Regions from separate parts of the Homo sapiens genome. Here region 2 is linked to region 1. Evidence: promoter capture Hi-C in human tissues and cell types (Jung and others, 2019). All regions are on one chromosome and are shown on one strand. Each heading gives the region's core, a stretch centred on a gene start or on the middle of the fragment in contact. The rest is flanking DNA. Distances are from core to core; before and after follow the strand shown.

Evidence for each region. The method cuts DNA at HindIII sites, captures the fragments that hold promoters and counts their contacts. A contact is called where the count stands out against the background at its distance.
Region 2: a fragment that was not itself captured here is called in contact with the fragment with the promoter of CDH22 in region 1 in 10 of the 25 tissues and cell types used here (H1 embryonic stem cells, adrenal gland, aorta and 7 more).

Annotation. Positions count from the first base shown.
Region 1 is chr20:46,306,060-46,313,212 of GRCh38, forward strand. CDH22 (cadherin 22) reads right to left here and starts at 2,439. Exons shown (of 12, transcript NM_021248.3): 1 at 2,196-2,439. The HindIII fragment of the contact is 29,361 bases long and covers 1-7,153 here.
Region 2 is chr20:46,218,416-46,225,568 of GRCh38, forward strand. All of the region lies in intron 4 of CDH22 (cadherin 22), which reads right to left. Among named protein-coding and RNA genes, the nearest start is that of CDH22, 87 kb to the right of the region's middle. The HindIII fragment of the contact is 3,632 bases long and covers 2,781-6,412 here.

The DNA.
Region 1 (7,153 bases), core at 1,189-3,688:
TGCTTCTGCTACTCGGCGTCTCTGCTAAAGGCATTCAACAGCTTTCCTCCGGCACTGGCCTGGGAGCACTGGGGGTCTAACTTGAACACCTCATGCTGAATTTAGAGCAAGTGTCTTCTTGTCCTGCCTGCAGCGTGAAGCCAAGAAACGGCTCTGTTTTGCCCCAGGCCTACCCAACACATAAGCAGCGTTGGTGAGGCCTGGATGTCAAGATGCCTGGGTTCCTATTCCGGCTCTGGGTATAGCTTACCATGTGACCTCGGGCTGCTGTTGCCAATCCTTGAAAATGGAAAAGAGGGCAGCCCAGGTGGTCTCCAATGTGCTGCTCACAGTTAGGAATAGGGAAAGGGGTTGTCTCCAGGGGTCCCCTGATGGGGCCACCCAAGAGGTACAGGTGCCCCTTAGCTGAGAGAGACCTGGCTGGCTTTATAAAGTACCTGCCCCCGAGGCACTGGCAGTGGTGGACCGGGAAGGGCACACAGACATCTCCAGGAAGCAGTGTTTAAATGTTGGCAATGCCCTTCCCTTCCAGGAGGAATGGAAGAGGAGTGTCCCAGACACTGGGACAAGGAGGGAAATAAGGGTGAAGTAGAGAAATGGCTGGGGCAGGGAACAGTTGAGTGCTACAGAAAAACTGAGGCAGACAGGATAGAAGATGGGTCGGGGTTGGGGGGGACGAGGAAATGGTCATTGGTGGGCAAAGACCAAAGGATGTCACTATGGGTGTAGAGGCCAAGTTTCAACAAGGGCTGTAGACTAGGGGCAACTGAGGGGGACGGAGTGGGCACTGATGGACACATATACGGGATACAAATGAAGGACAGAGAGTCGCGGTGGTTAGGGAGGAGCCTTTGGGCCCTAGGGCAGTGGTGATGCTGATATAGGGTATTGGCGCTGACCAGTGGGAGAAGAGGATGAGATCCTGAACCTGGGTGGAGAGGGAGAGAGAGCTGGCAACAGCCAAAGCCCTCAAATGAGCCGCTGCCTGTGCTGGGGGCACCTCGGCCAGCCCCAGAAACCTGGGGAGTGCTGGAATCAGCCCCACGGAAAAAGAAGCTGGCATGCGCAACCCTGGCGACGCCCGAAGGGTTTGGAGAGAAGAGGTTCCAAGGAGCGAGCACCTCGGAAGACCTGAGCAGCTTCAAACAGCAGCTTCTCTGCCCGCCACAAGGGGGTGCCCTGCACCTCGGGGAGACCTCGGGGGATCCTGGATCAGCCCTACCCTCTGCAGCCCCGCCTGGGACAGGGCCCGACGTTGCCAGAGAAGAGGCAGCGGGGAGGCGCGAGCGAGACGGGTCCACACTGTGCCCACCCAGGGCTGCCCGGCACCCCGCGCGCCCACGCAGTCCACTCTTCACAGTAAACGCCGCGGCCCCCGAGGGTTAGCCCTAAGTGGCGCTCTCTTTGGACGTTAGGCTGTCGGGGGCCCCGTCCTTCTTCCCCAGCGGGGACGGTGTCTCCGGAGTCGGGTCCTAAGGAAGAGAGCAGCGCTGGCTCTCGCTCACCGCCAGCCCGCCCGACGGCCATAGGGCAGGGGGGGTCGCGCCGGTGGGGCCGGCAGGGGTCCCTGTGGGCCGCCTCCCCGGCTCAGAGGGGACCAGAACCGTGCGTGTCGCCGCGGCTGGAGTCAGCCTCCGGGTGTCCCCGGACGCGGCACGACCTCGCACACACACACCGCGCGCACACGCTCGCGCCGTGCGGTATTTTCCCGGCCCCGGACCCCGCCTCTGGGAGGGGCCGGGGAGCCGAGCCCCGCTAGCAGGGTTGGGGGACCGGGAACGCCTGGGTCCCAGCCCTCGCGTCAGGGCTGTGCGCCACCTTCCCAGCCCCTTTTGGCGCGCCGGCTCGGCCCCTGGCGCTGCCACCCCTCGGCCCGCGGGGGTCCCGGAGGCTCCCGGGCGCGCGGCGGACGAGGTTGTGGGGACGGGTGGGAGCTGCGGGCTTCGGGCCGAGAGGCGGCTCGGCTCCGCGCCGGGGAAAGTTTGGACGTGGGAAACTCCCTCCCCGCCCTCCCGGCCGAGAGGAGGGGGCGCGCAGGGCCGGGCGCAGGCACCCCGGCTCCTCCTGCGGCTGGAGGCTCGCCCCCCGCGCCGCCTGCCCGGCCGCTCCCGCCGGCCAGGGGGCTCCCTCCCTGCCGGGCAGCCTCCCCTCGGCGGCGATCCGGCCGCTCCTCCCGCGGCACCCCGCGCTCTTACCTCGGGGAGCGGCCCGGGGCTCCCCCTAGTCCTGCCGCCTCGGGACGCTGCGTGGGGCGGGAGCCCCGGCGCGGGCAGCGGGCGAGTCCGGAGCCCCGCGGCCGCCCGCAGGAGCCGGAGGGAGAGCGGGAGCGAGAGGGGGAGCCGCGGCGGCGTGTGCGCGCGTGTGTGTGAGCGAGAGAGCGAGAGAGCGAGAGAGCGAGGGAGTGAGCGAGCGAGCGGGAGCGAGGGAGTGTGCGTGTCTGACTGGGGGGAAGTGTGCAAGGGACGGATCCCTTCCTTCCTCCCGCAGCCTCTGGTGGAGACTCGGAGAATGCAGGGCCCGCCGGGCAGGAGCCGCGCAGCGCCAAGCCGCAGGCGGCCGCCGGCCCGGACCCCCGCAGCCGGGGAACCCCAGCCCCCGCCCCCCGGATCGCGCCCCTCCTACACCAGGAGGGGACAGCCTTTCCCTCTCTCGGGCGGCCCAGTCCCAGGAAACCCCCCAGGGGACAGTGCCCCTCCCTCCTCCAACCCCAGATCCGCGCGAAGGGAGCGCCCCCAGGAGGGGGACCATCTACCTCCTCGCCTGGCAGCTCCCCAGGTGGCCGCAGTTTGAGACCAGAGCCTATTTCCCCACCTGATTTTACTGCGAATAGGGCTTCCCATTTCCGCCCCCTGACTACTGCGGGAGGCCGCCTTCAGAGGAGCAGGGGCGCAGGCCAGGGTAGGAGCAGGCTTCTCGAACAGTGGCCGCCCCGGCTTGCTGCCCAGAAAGGCACCTTGCACAGACCAGATCTGCCAGTTCAGAAACAGTCACTGTGCATTGAGGTGGACACCGACCAGGTGCCCAGGGCTGAGTCTCCAGGCAGGTGGGAGGTCGGGTGTCCCCGGGAGAGAAACTTGTGGGCTTTTCCTCTGGAGAGTCCCGCTGGACATCCTTGCAACCAACAAAGTAAGCAGGCAAAACAAGACACCTCCATCCTTAACTTGGTGCCACCTTGACCTGGAGAAGTCTCCCAATAAAATCTTCCCACTGCCCAGAAACTCCTTGCTGGTTGGGTTTTCCGTTCTTTTAAAAATCCGGCTGGTCTGCTCCCTGATGTTTTTTCCACCTGGCCCTGTTTCTTTCTCCTGGCTGCCTGGCTCTCCTTACTACTTCATCTCTCTGGGATGAGGCCTAATGGAGGAGACCCTCCCACCCCACTCCTGAGTTCCCAATATGAGGTCGTTGATGGTAGGATAGGACCAGTGACTCCCATAGACCCACCCTTTGTCTTGGGTTGTAGGTCCCCTTAGGAGTTGCCCGCCCCCCTATTCCCCATGGCTTCCAGATAGGTGAGTGAAGGATAACAGGAGACTGGACAGCTGCAGACCTCTGTCCCGCCAAGCTGCCAATGACCAGCCATTTAATCACCCACAAGCAGCTGCTGAAGTTCATGGCAAAGAGGGGGCAGGGCCCTCCAGGACCCCCAGCTCTACCTCGCCCCTATCCTTCTCTCCTCCTCGCCTCCTTCCCCAATTTCCATCTCCATCTCCACACCCTAGTCCGTCTTGCTGATGATTGGAATCACCTCTCCTGCTGGCTGCCCCTCTGGCCCCTCCTACTAAACTCCATCATTCATTTATTTATTTTGAGATGTATTCTCCACTGTGCCAGTCTGTTCCCTCCCCTACGTCCTTCTCTTGGTTTATTTCCCTTCATTGATCTCTTCCAGCCTTGCCTTTCTATCGCCTTCCTTTTCTCCATCTCTCTCTTCCCCTCTCCTCTCTATTCTTAGCCTCCACTCTTTCATGCTTTCAGAGACCAGAGGCCAGCCTTCCAGGTGCATCTCTTCACTTTTGGTTCTCTCCTCCCGCTCTGACTCACTTTTGCTGTTTGCTCCAGTTCCCATTCCTTCTTTGCCTCTTCCTCCAGGCTCTGGTGTGTGCTGTTCATCTCTGGAGTCAGACCTACTTAGTTGTCCACAGGTTGTTTTGGTCTGGGACACTGTTGCTGTCACATCTGCATGCACACAGTAGGTGCTCAATAAATGTTATTGAATGAACTGTTGTCACATCTTTCTCTTTTGCTCTGGTCTCTCTCTTCTCTCTCTTTTATTTTTATTTTTTTTTGAGATGGGGGTCTCACTATGTTGTCCAGGCTGGATTCCTGGACTCAGGTGATCATTCTGCCTCAGCCTCTCAAGTAACTGGGACACCAGGCATGTGCTGCTGCACCCAGCTCCCCATGACTCTTTATTAGACCCTCAGGTTTTCCTATCCCAATGTTTCCTATTTTCAGGCTCATTCTACCGTTATTTCCAATTCTTCCTTCCTTCAACAAACTTTCTCTGAGTGTCCACTCTGTTGTGAGCACTATGGCTAGGCTCTGAGAACACATTGAATGTTTATTGAGCACTTGCTGTGTGCCATAGTTCTGCTTTTAAGTCCTCACAATAATCAGATACTAGTATTAGCCCATTTTACAAATGAGGAAACTGAGACACGGTGTTGAAATAGCAAGATCATTCAGACGGCAAGTAGAGAGATCAGGTTGACGCATTGGGCCTGGGTCAGACCTCTCACTCTGGTCTGGGAGAAGGTAAGCTGGGACTCCTGCTGCAGTGTGGCAGGGGCAGCAAGAGGCAGTGTAGTGTGACAGAGGAAGAACTGGGCAGGCCTGGGCTCTGAGAGCAGTTCTGCCCCATGCAGACTGTGTGACACGTGGGCAAGCCACTTCCCCCAGCATTGATGTGAAGAGAAAATGAGATGATAGTAACAACAGTTAACATTTAGTGAACCTGTGCCATGTGTCAAGCCTTCTCCTAAATGTTTTACACAGATAATTTCCTTTTACTTTCAACAAATTTATAAATTCATAATGGGGAAACTGAGGCACAGTGCAACTATGAAACGTGCCCAAGGTCACACAATTAGTTTATGGCAGAGCTGGGATTCAAACCAAGGCAGGCTGGGGCCAAAGCCTGCACACTGAACTGTTGTGCAATATTGCCTCTGGGCAAATAAAATGCCAAGTGCTTTGTAGTTAGAGTTTGAACGTGTGCTTTTTTATATCGTGTGGTGAGTCTACAAATAAGAGAGACACCACTCCTCCAGGGATTGGGTAGGATGAGGAAGGACTTGGGGAGAGAGGCATGGCTAGGGAAGGATTCCAAGAGGAGGCGCTTGTGAGAATTCTCCTTCCCACTCCATCAGAAGGGCACACAGCCCTGTCTTGGCACAGGGGACATGTTTTCCCCTGGAGTAGTCATCTGGGTCCATGGGCATTTCTCTCTCTCTAGCCCAGGGTCACTCCACTTTGGCCCTATTGACATTTGGGCCAGATAATTCTTCGTCATTGGGCATGTCCCATGTAGGATGCTTAGTAGCATCCCCAGCTTCTACCCACTAGATGCCAGCAGCACACCCCCTCCCCAGTTGTGACAACTAAAAATGTGTCCTGACATTGCCAAATGTCTCCTGAAGGGCAAAGTCACCCCCAGTTGAGAGCCACTGCTCTAGTCTGAACGCCCTAACAGCAGGGTCTGCTCCAGGGAGCCTGCAGGTTTGAGCAGGGGTCAGTGAAGGGTGTGTGTGTGTGTGTGTGTGTGTGTGTGTGTGAGTGCATACACGCGTGTGTGTTGGGGATGGGGAGGCTGCTCTTAGCTCCAGGCTCTGCTATTCTCCCTGGCTCTTTTCCTCTTCTTCTCTACACTTCTCTGTCATCCCTTTATCTGTCTGTCGCCTTCTCATGCACTGTCCATCTGTCCTCGCTTCTCTGACTGCCTCCACTCCTGTCTCTGTCTCCTCCCCCTCAGTGTCTCTGGTCTCTCTGACTGTTTCTGAATGGGTGTCAGTCTCTTGCTACCTGCCCCTACATCTTCTCTAGCACCCTTCTCCCCTCCCCCCATCTGCTTATCTCCTAGCTGTGTCCCTGCGTCTGTCGTTCTCTTTCCGTTTCCCCCTCCCTCTGTCCTGTTCTCTCTGCCTCCATGTCTGTCTCCCTCTCTCTGTTTCTCTGTCTCTTCCCATCTCTGTTTCTTCGGGGCACCCAGTCTCCCTCTGTCTCCCTCTTGCCTGTCCTATTCTGGTTCTCTCTGTCCTCATCCCGCACTCTCAGTGCCCCGTTTCCCTTTCTCTCTTCTCCCCACACTTCCTTCTCCTCTTCCTCCTTCCCTCCTTCCTTCCCACTCCCCTCCTCCCGCTCCCTTCCTCTACTCTCCCCACTCTGTGCTTCCCCTCCCTTCCCTCCCTTCCTCCCCCTCCTCCCGCTTTGTCTGTGGGAGCTGGAAGTTAAAAGCTTTTCCGAACTTGTTCTCCAGTCGCTGTTCCCGGCGCCTTTCATCTCGCCAGCACATTTGTAAAACTGCGCAGACTGAAGGGCCGTGACATGAACAACCAAAGAAATGTCAGCGCGGGGACGGGGCCGCCAGCCCGCCGGGGGGCGTAGGGAGCAGCCGGGGCACACCCTAGCCCCTCCCCAGAGGGACCCGGGACCCGAACGAGGGCGCCCCACCTGGGACTCCGGGCGCTCTGCACCTCTGCGAGCCCGCTTTCTCCGCCGGGGCCGACGGGACCGCAGGGAGGGGGAGGGGACTACTTGGGGAGGGGACTCCATGGGAAGGGAACTTCGAGGGGACGGGGAGGCCGCCCTTGGCTGGGGGCGCCAGGACGGGGAGGGGCGAGCCTGCGGGAGCCACAGGCGCCGAGGCCGCTGCGCCCTTAAGCACCTCCACCTCATGGCGTTAATCCTCGCAGACCCCGCAGCCAGACTGCCTGGGTTCAAATCCCATCACCGCCACTTGCCAGCTGTGTCACCCTGGGCAAGTGACTTCACCTCTCCACATCTCAATTTCCTTATAGTAAAATAGAGATGGTGAAGATTGGATGAGCAAATCCTTGTAAGGCACTTAGAATAAGTGTTTGCTGTAATTAATAAGAAGAATAGCAGCAACAACTCACAAAACAGGGTTATCGTCCCCATGCTACCGCTGGGGAAA
Region 2 (7,153 bases), core at 3,347-5,846, 85 kb before region 1:
CATGGAGCAGCAGCTTGGCTGGTGTGAACTGGACTCACGTCCACACTCATGTACACTCACTATGCTGTCACACTCACCTGTATACACACATGCAACGTAGTTCACACATTTGTGGTGTATGGACATAAGAACACATACAAAGTCCCTTACACACATGCACACTCATAGCTACCACCTCACATTCTTATTCACACCCCCTCCCACAACCAAATTATCCCCCAGCCTTAGAGGTGCACCCCAACCCTCTCCAGGCCCTAGATCCTCTATCCAGGCACCAGCTAATCACGGAGCAGACAGTCCTCCAAGCTGTTATTGGAAGCAGGGAGGGCAGCAGGCGTGGGGGTGACCGCAAGATTAATTCTGCTGTGGGGAAGACTGGGCTTCTTGTCTCCCTGCCAGTAGAAGAGACAAGGGTAGGGCGGGGGAGTCGATGAGGCATTCAGAGCCTCTCCCACCACCCACTCCAACCTGCCGAGCACCAGGTGGTGACAGGTGGTGCCCGGGGCCTGTGCGCCAGGTGGAGTCATGCACCAGCAGCCCCATGCTGCGCCCCATAAAACCCAAGCTCTGACACCTGATGTCCCCCAACAGTCCCCAGACTCCCATACAGGCAACAGAATGGAAGGAGAGGCTGTAGGGCGTGTGTGTATGTGTGGTGTTTGTGTGTGTATTTCTGTGTGTACCTGTGGTAGGTAGCCAGAGGTGGGGCACCTAAGGGGTGGTCCTGCTTTCGTGGGATCACATGCAGATATGGAATGGGTGTTCTGCCTAATCAAGGGTCACACAAACCATCTATCAGTGGCCTTCTCAACGCCTCAGTAGGCCCCCTCCTGACCCCTTCTCTACCACCACTGGTCTTCCCAGGAACAGGGGAGTCTTGGCAGTGGATTGCCTTGGGATAGATTCCAGATCTGCCATTTCTTTGGTCATGTGATTTTGAGCTAATCCCTTCACCTCTTTGAACCTCAGTTTCCTTATCTGTAAAATGGGACAACCACCATACTGACTTAAATGACAGGATTTCTCAAACTTGGCACTGTAGTCAGTCATTTTGGGCAGGATAATTCTCTGTAGTGTGTGTGTGTGTGACCTGTATGTTGTAGGATATTTAGTAGCATCCTTGGCCTCCCGGCACTAAATGCCAGCAGCACTAACCGTCGCCTTAGTTCCAAAACTGTCTCCAGACATTGTCAAATGGACCCTGGGGCAAGATTGGTTGAGAACCACTCGTATAGGATTTCATCTCATGAGAATTACATGTAATAAAAACAACTAATGTTTATGTGCATTTGCTCTGTGTCCGGCATTATTCTAATCACCTTAGGTGAATTGCCTCATTTAATCCTCTCAATATTCATATGTGGAAGGTCCTGTGATTATACCTGTTTTATAGATGAGGAGACAGAGGCACGGAAAGGCTAAGTACCTTGTTGAAGGTCACACGTGTAGAAAGTGCATAGCCAGGACGCTGAGGCTTTGCAGCCCTGGACAGCAGGGGCTGTACAGGGAAGGTGGGGTGTGTCATATTCTCCACCCTGGGGGGTTGGAAAGAGAGAATGGAAGGCAGACAGAGGGGAGGAAGAGAGCGAAGGTGATGGACAGGGAAGAGGAGAGAAAGAAGAAAAGGAGTCCCAGGGAAAGAGAGACAGGGAGAAACCTAGTGAGAGACAGGAGGAAAGAGACAGAGAGGAAGGGAAGAAAGGAAGGTAGGGGAGGGGAAGGGAGGGGAACAGACAGAGAGGGAGACTGAAAGGGACAGAAAAACAGAGAAGGGAAGATTGCGGGGGGAGGTAGATAAACCAGAGAGAAAGCCAGAGATACCCAGAAAGAGACAGTAAGAGAGAAACAGAGACCTAGAGAGAAACAAAGAGGAAGAGAAAGAAAGGAGGGAAGAAAAATGGGCAAAGAACAACTGAGAGAGCGGGAACAGACATACAGAAAACAGAGAGGGAGACGCAGGAAGGGTGAAGAAAGATGGTGGGGGGTGGGGAGGGGAGGGCAGGTAGGCTTACAGTGCAGCAGCCACCAGGCCAGGGAGCAGGGGATCCCAGGTGGAAAGGTGGAGAGGGAGTGACTTTAGCCGAGCACTTGCTGTGTGCTAAGCTTTGTGCTGGTCACTTGCCATCCAGGACCTCAGTGAATGTACAGGATTCGTGGTAGGATGTGGAGTCACTGTGTATCTATGGGCTTGGGCACCAAAGGCTCAGTGTCCCAGCTCTGAGTGGGGGCTGGAGCAGGGGCCTGGCTCCACCTCTGTGAGTGAGAGAGGCTCCACGTGGCTGCCTTCTTTGCTGTCCCTGTCACTTCCAGCTCCTGAGGAACTGGGGACACGACACTCTTCTCACTTGGAAACTGGTCCTGAAGCCTTGTGGTGTGTAGGATTCAGGTGCCATCTCTGGGTGTGTGTGAGTTGGGCCCCCTGGGCCTTGTTCTCGGGATCCAGGGAACAGGGTAGGTTGCTATGGTGACAGTGCCCAGTGAACCACACCTTCCGGTATCCACGCCCTTGGGTCATTCCCTCCCACACTGACTCTGGCCAATGGGACATCAGCAAGTGTGCTTTGGCCAATAGGACATCAGCAAGTGTGACAAAAGCAGAGGTTTGATAAGCCCCTGTATGCTGCGGCCTGTCCTCTTGGAATCCTGAGACCATTGTACTGTGAAGAAGCCCAGGATAAAAGGCCACATGGAGAGGGAGGCCTAGTCCTGCCAGCTGTCCCAGTGAAGTCACTCCCAGCGACCCGACAGCTGACTGTTGCTGCATGAGTGACCCCAGCAAAATAACTGCCAAGCTGACACACCAAATTGTGACAAATAATAAATTATTGTTGCTTTAAGCTACCAGGTTTTGGGTTTTTTTTTTTCTTTTTTTTTTTTTTTTACATAGCTCTAGATGACTGATAGAGAAATCCAGTTGGCTGGGCCATTCCTCTGCTGATTTTGTCTGGGCTTACTCACGCATCTGAGCCTAAACCGGAGGAGCAGCTGACTGGAAGGTCCAAGATGGCTCATTTACATGTCTGGCAGTTGGTCTTGGCTGTCGGCGGGGACACATTGGTTCTTTCATCCTCCAGTAGGCTGGCTTCCTTACATAGCAGTCTCAGGACTGTGTTCCAGGACAGTAAACGTGAAAGCTGCAAGGTCTCTTAAGGCCTAATGTCAGAATTTGCATAACATCACTTCTGCCACATTCTATTGGCCAAAGTAGTCCCAGGCGAACCCAGGTTCAAGGGGTAGGGAAACAGACTCCACCTCTTGCCCAGAACAGTGGCAAAGTCACATTAGTAAGCAGCCGTGTGCAGGGCGGGGAGGAATTGATAACATATTTTCCTATCTACTATGTTCCACTCCACTGTCTTCCTCCTGATGTTGGGAGAAGCACGGTGGAGACTATTGCCCTCTGAGAGATCTAGGGGTACAAATATTCCAAAACAGTCCATGAAGTTGTTCTTGAAAGCTTCTGGCTCTTTGACTTCATCCGTTCACTCATTCATTCATTACAGTCTTGCCGAGGGCCTACTACAGGTGCTGGGGCTGCACAGACTCAGATAGGCTGCAGGAGGACTCTGGGGCCAGACAGATATGGGCTCAAGTCTTCTTTCCACCATTTACATGCTAGCTGACCATGGGCAAGTTCCTGGGCCTCTCTGAGCCTCTGTTTCCTCTTATGTGAAATGGAGACACCCACCTGGTAGGGCTGTTGAGAGGACTGAATGAGAGGAAGCTTCCAGCAGCAGGCCTCACATTTTGGAGATGCCTTGCTGATCTCTTTCCTCAAGTTCTGGATTGAGTACCTCCATAAACAAGTTTCACAGAGGCAGAAATCCATGCTGGTCTTGTTCATCCCGTGTCTATAGGGCCTGGCACACAGCAAGTGCTCAAATGACGTTTTGACTGGCTGACTCCCAGTGCCCCTCCACTGCCCCTCTCACAGCCTGGGTGTAGCTATCCATTTGCTTCTCTGCTGGAGCAGAAGCTCCGTGAGGGCAGAAACCAGGTCTACTTCATTATCCTGACCCCAGGATCTGGCACTTAGAAGGTGCTCAACAAATGTTAGTTTCATTCCCTCCCTGTAAAATGGATGACTCTGGCTCAGTTGACAATTTTCAGCAGAGATCTTGAAATCTCGGAGAACATTTCTATTCCTGCTGGGGTGGTGGTGGGCGGGGGCTGGTAATTATAACCTGGCCTCAGCTCCCGCAGCCTTGTCTTCACCCATCGTCCCCAGTTCCAGCTGTTGTCCTGGCCTCCCCTGCTGTCCCCTCCAAATGCTGCAAAAGGGGCCCTGGAGCCCGTGTGATGCCTCATTAGCACACAAATGCCATCCCTGTCGCCCCTGTGGGGGGCCTGCTGGCAGGCCTGGCCTTTAAAACACACAAGTTAATTCCTCCTCTGGCATTGGGGCCTCGCGGCGCCCCGCCTCCTCCCTTCCCTCACACCTTCCTCCCAGGCCCCGTTCCGGCTCTGCTCCCTGCTATCTGCACAGCAAGAACAGACTGTACCTCGCAGCAGCTGCTAAATATAGACCCGCATCAGCAGAATATTCCTGGCTGGGGAACTAGAGCTGGGGCTGGGAATGGCACCAGGGCAGCTCTTGCCATGGGGCTGTGGGCAAGGGGAGGCAAAACCTGGTTCTTCCTGGGACGTGCCAGAAAGGACCCTTTCAGATTGAAGAGTTGAGGGGCTCTGGAGCAGGGACCCCATTTGAACTCCTTCAACTGCCTTGCCTGGTCCTCACTTTCTGACCTCTTGGGAACTGTTCTGCTCCCCCAGGCCCGGTGGCCTCCCAGTTGTCACCATCTTCTGGGCCCTCTGCTGCGGGGGATGCTGTTTCTTAGAAACTGGCTGTCCTTCCCACTCTCATGTCCTCCCCACTCTCTGATCCTTCATCTGCCCAGCCCTGCCACCTCCCAAGACTCAGTCTTGGCCCTTCTCTTATTTCTATGTTCTTTCTTCTCCCCATCTCCCCAAGGCTTATCAACCCTAGGGTCCCCACCTCCTCAGGCTGAATGCATGAAGGCTTCCTCATCACCATCACTATCCTTTTGTGCTGGGGCTCAGGCTGAGCACTTTACATACTTCCTGTTCCCTTGGCCTGCAGTGTTGGTCCCCAGAAATCTGCATGGCTCATACCTTCACTGCACTTGGTCTCTGCCCCAAGGTCACTTCCCCAGAAAGGCCTGTTGTGATTTCTTTCTTTTTCTTTCTTTCTTTTTTCTTTCTTTCTTTCTTTCTCTTTCTTTTTCTTTCCTTCTTTCTTTCTTTCTTTCTTTCTTTCTTTCTTTCTTTCTTTCTTTCTTTTTCTTTCTTTCTCTTTCTTTCTTTCTCTTTCCTCTTTCTTTTTCTTTCTTTCTTTCTTTCCTCTCTTTCTTTTTCTTTCTTTCTTCTTCCTTTCTTCCTTTCTTCCTTCCTTCCTTCCTTCCTTCCTTCCTTCCTTCTTTCTTTCTTTTCTTTTTGAGATGGAGTCTTGCTCTGTCACTCAGGCTGGAGTGCAGTGGTGCGATCTTGGCTCACTGCAACCTCTGCCTCCTGGGTTCAGGCAATTCTCCTGCCTCAACCTCCCGAGTAGCTGGGATTACAGGCATGTGCCACCACTCCCGGCTAATTTTTGTATTTTAGTAGAGATCGGGTTTCACCATGTTGGCCAGGCTGGTGTCAAACTCCTGGCCTCAAGTGATCCACCCGCTTCGGCCTCCCAAAGTGTTGGGATTACAGGCATGAGTCACCATGCCTGGCTGTGAAGTCTTAATCTAAGTCCTTCCTCTGCATTAGGTTTCGTCCTCACACTCGTCACTGCTTGACGTTATGTTATATGTGTACATGCTCATCTTCTATATTCTCTACTTCAATAAAAGTGCCATGAATGCAGAGCCTTAGATTTGCCTACTGAAGCATTCCTAGTGCCTAGCACAGAGCCAGGCACATAATAGGCACTCAATAAATAGTGGTTGAATGAATGAGTGAACTGTCCCATTGAATCCTCACGACCATCAAGTGAGATGGGTATGATTCTCTCCCCTGTGCACATGGGGAAACTGAAGCTTTAAGAGACCCAACCATTCTTGGAGCTCCACACCTGTATTTCACATGGCCTGCTAGAAGTTCTAGGTGTTTCTTTCCCTGTTTTCGCTCATCTTAAAGCCAATATGGTTAAAGCTGAATTTTTTAGCTCTGCATCAGATTCCAGGGCACATTCACTCATTCCTCTGCTCTAGTAGCTTTCTTAATTTACACTCCTCCTGTTTCTGTTGATGGTACCCCTTGCCTAGATGAATAAATCCTACTACATGGAAAGAAACTCTGCCTCCTCCCCCAACCTAGTCCTGCAGATTCGTGTTGGCCCCCAAGGTTTGTCCTTGGCAGGATCTCACTGCCACCCCCTATTCTCTCTTCTCGGCATCTCAATCAATCCTCACTATGAATTCTTCATCATCCCTGGCCTCCTAGCTAGACAGGTAGGTTAAGGAGTCTGAGTGACTGTCAAGAAAGGGCGCAGGCTTTTGGTTTTTGCCATTTGGGACTCTATGCTGGGCATCCTGGGCTCCAGGGCCTCCCTGCCTCTAATTCCTGCCTCTGAGCCAAGCTCTGTAGCAGCAGCCCAAGGGATCTTGTTAAAATTAAAACCAGAGCATGTCATTTCCTTGCTTAGTAGTCATCAGTGAACCTGCACTGTAGGTGAGGAGGAGGGGAAATGGATACTCTCACACGTGGCTCACGGGAGTGTCGTCTGGTACATTTCGGCATTATCTATCGAGATTCCGAATGCATGTGCTCTTTGACCAAGCTTCTCCACTTCCTGAAAATTATCCTGCAGATATACTCACACAAGCACAAAATGATGTATGTGTGAGGTTATTCACTGTAGCATTGTTTGTTGTAGCAAAAGATTGGAAACAGCATAAGTGTCCATCGGCAGGGGACTGGTGAAATAAATTTTAGTGTATCCATAACACCCATTAAATAAGAGAAAGAGGAAGCCCTTTATGTACTCATATGGAATAATCTTCAAAATGTATTGTTAAGTGAAAAAGGCAAGCCGTGTGTATAGTGTGTTTATAGCTACCATTCATGTAAAAAAAATAAATACATGTACCTTATTTTCTTGTACATGTACAGAATAGCTCTGGAAGATGCATGAGAAAATTACATTGGT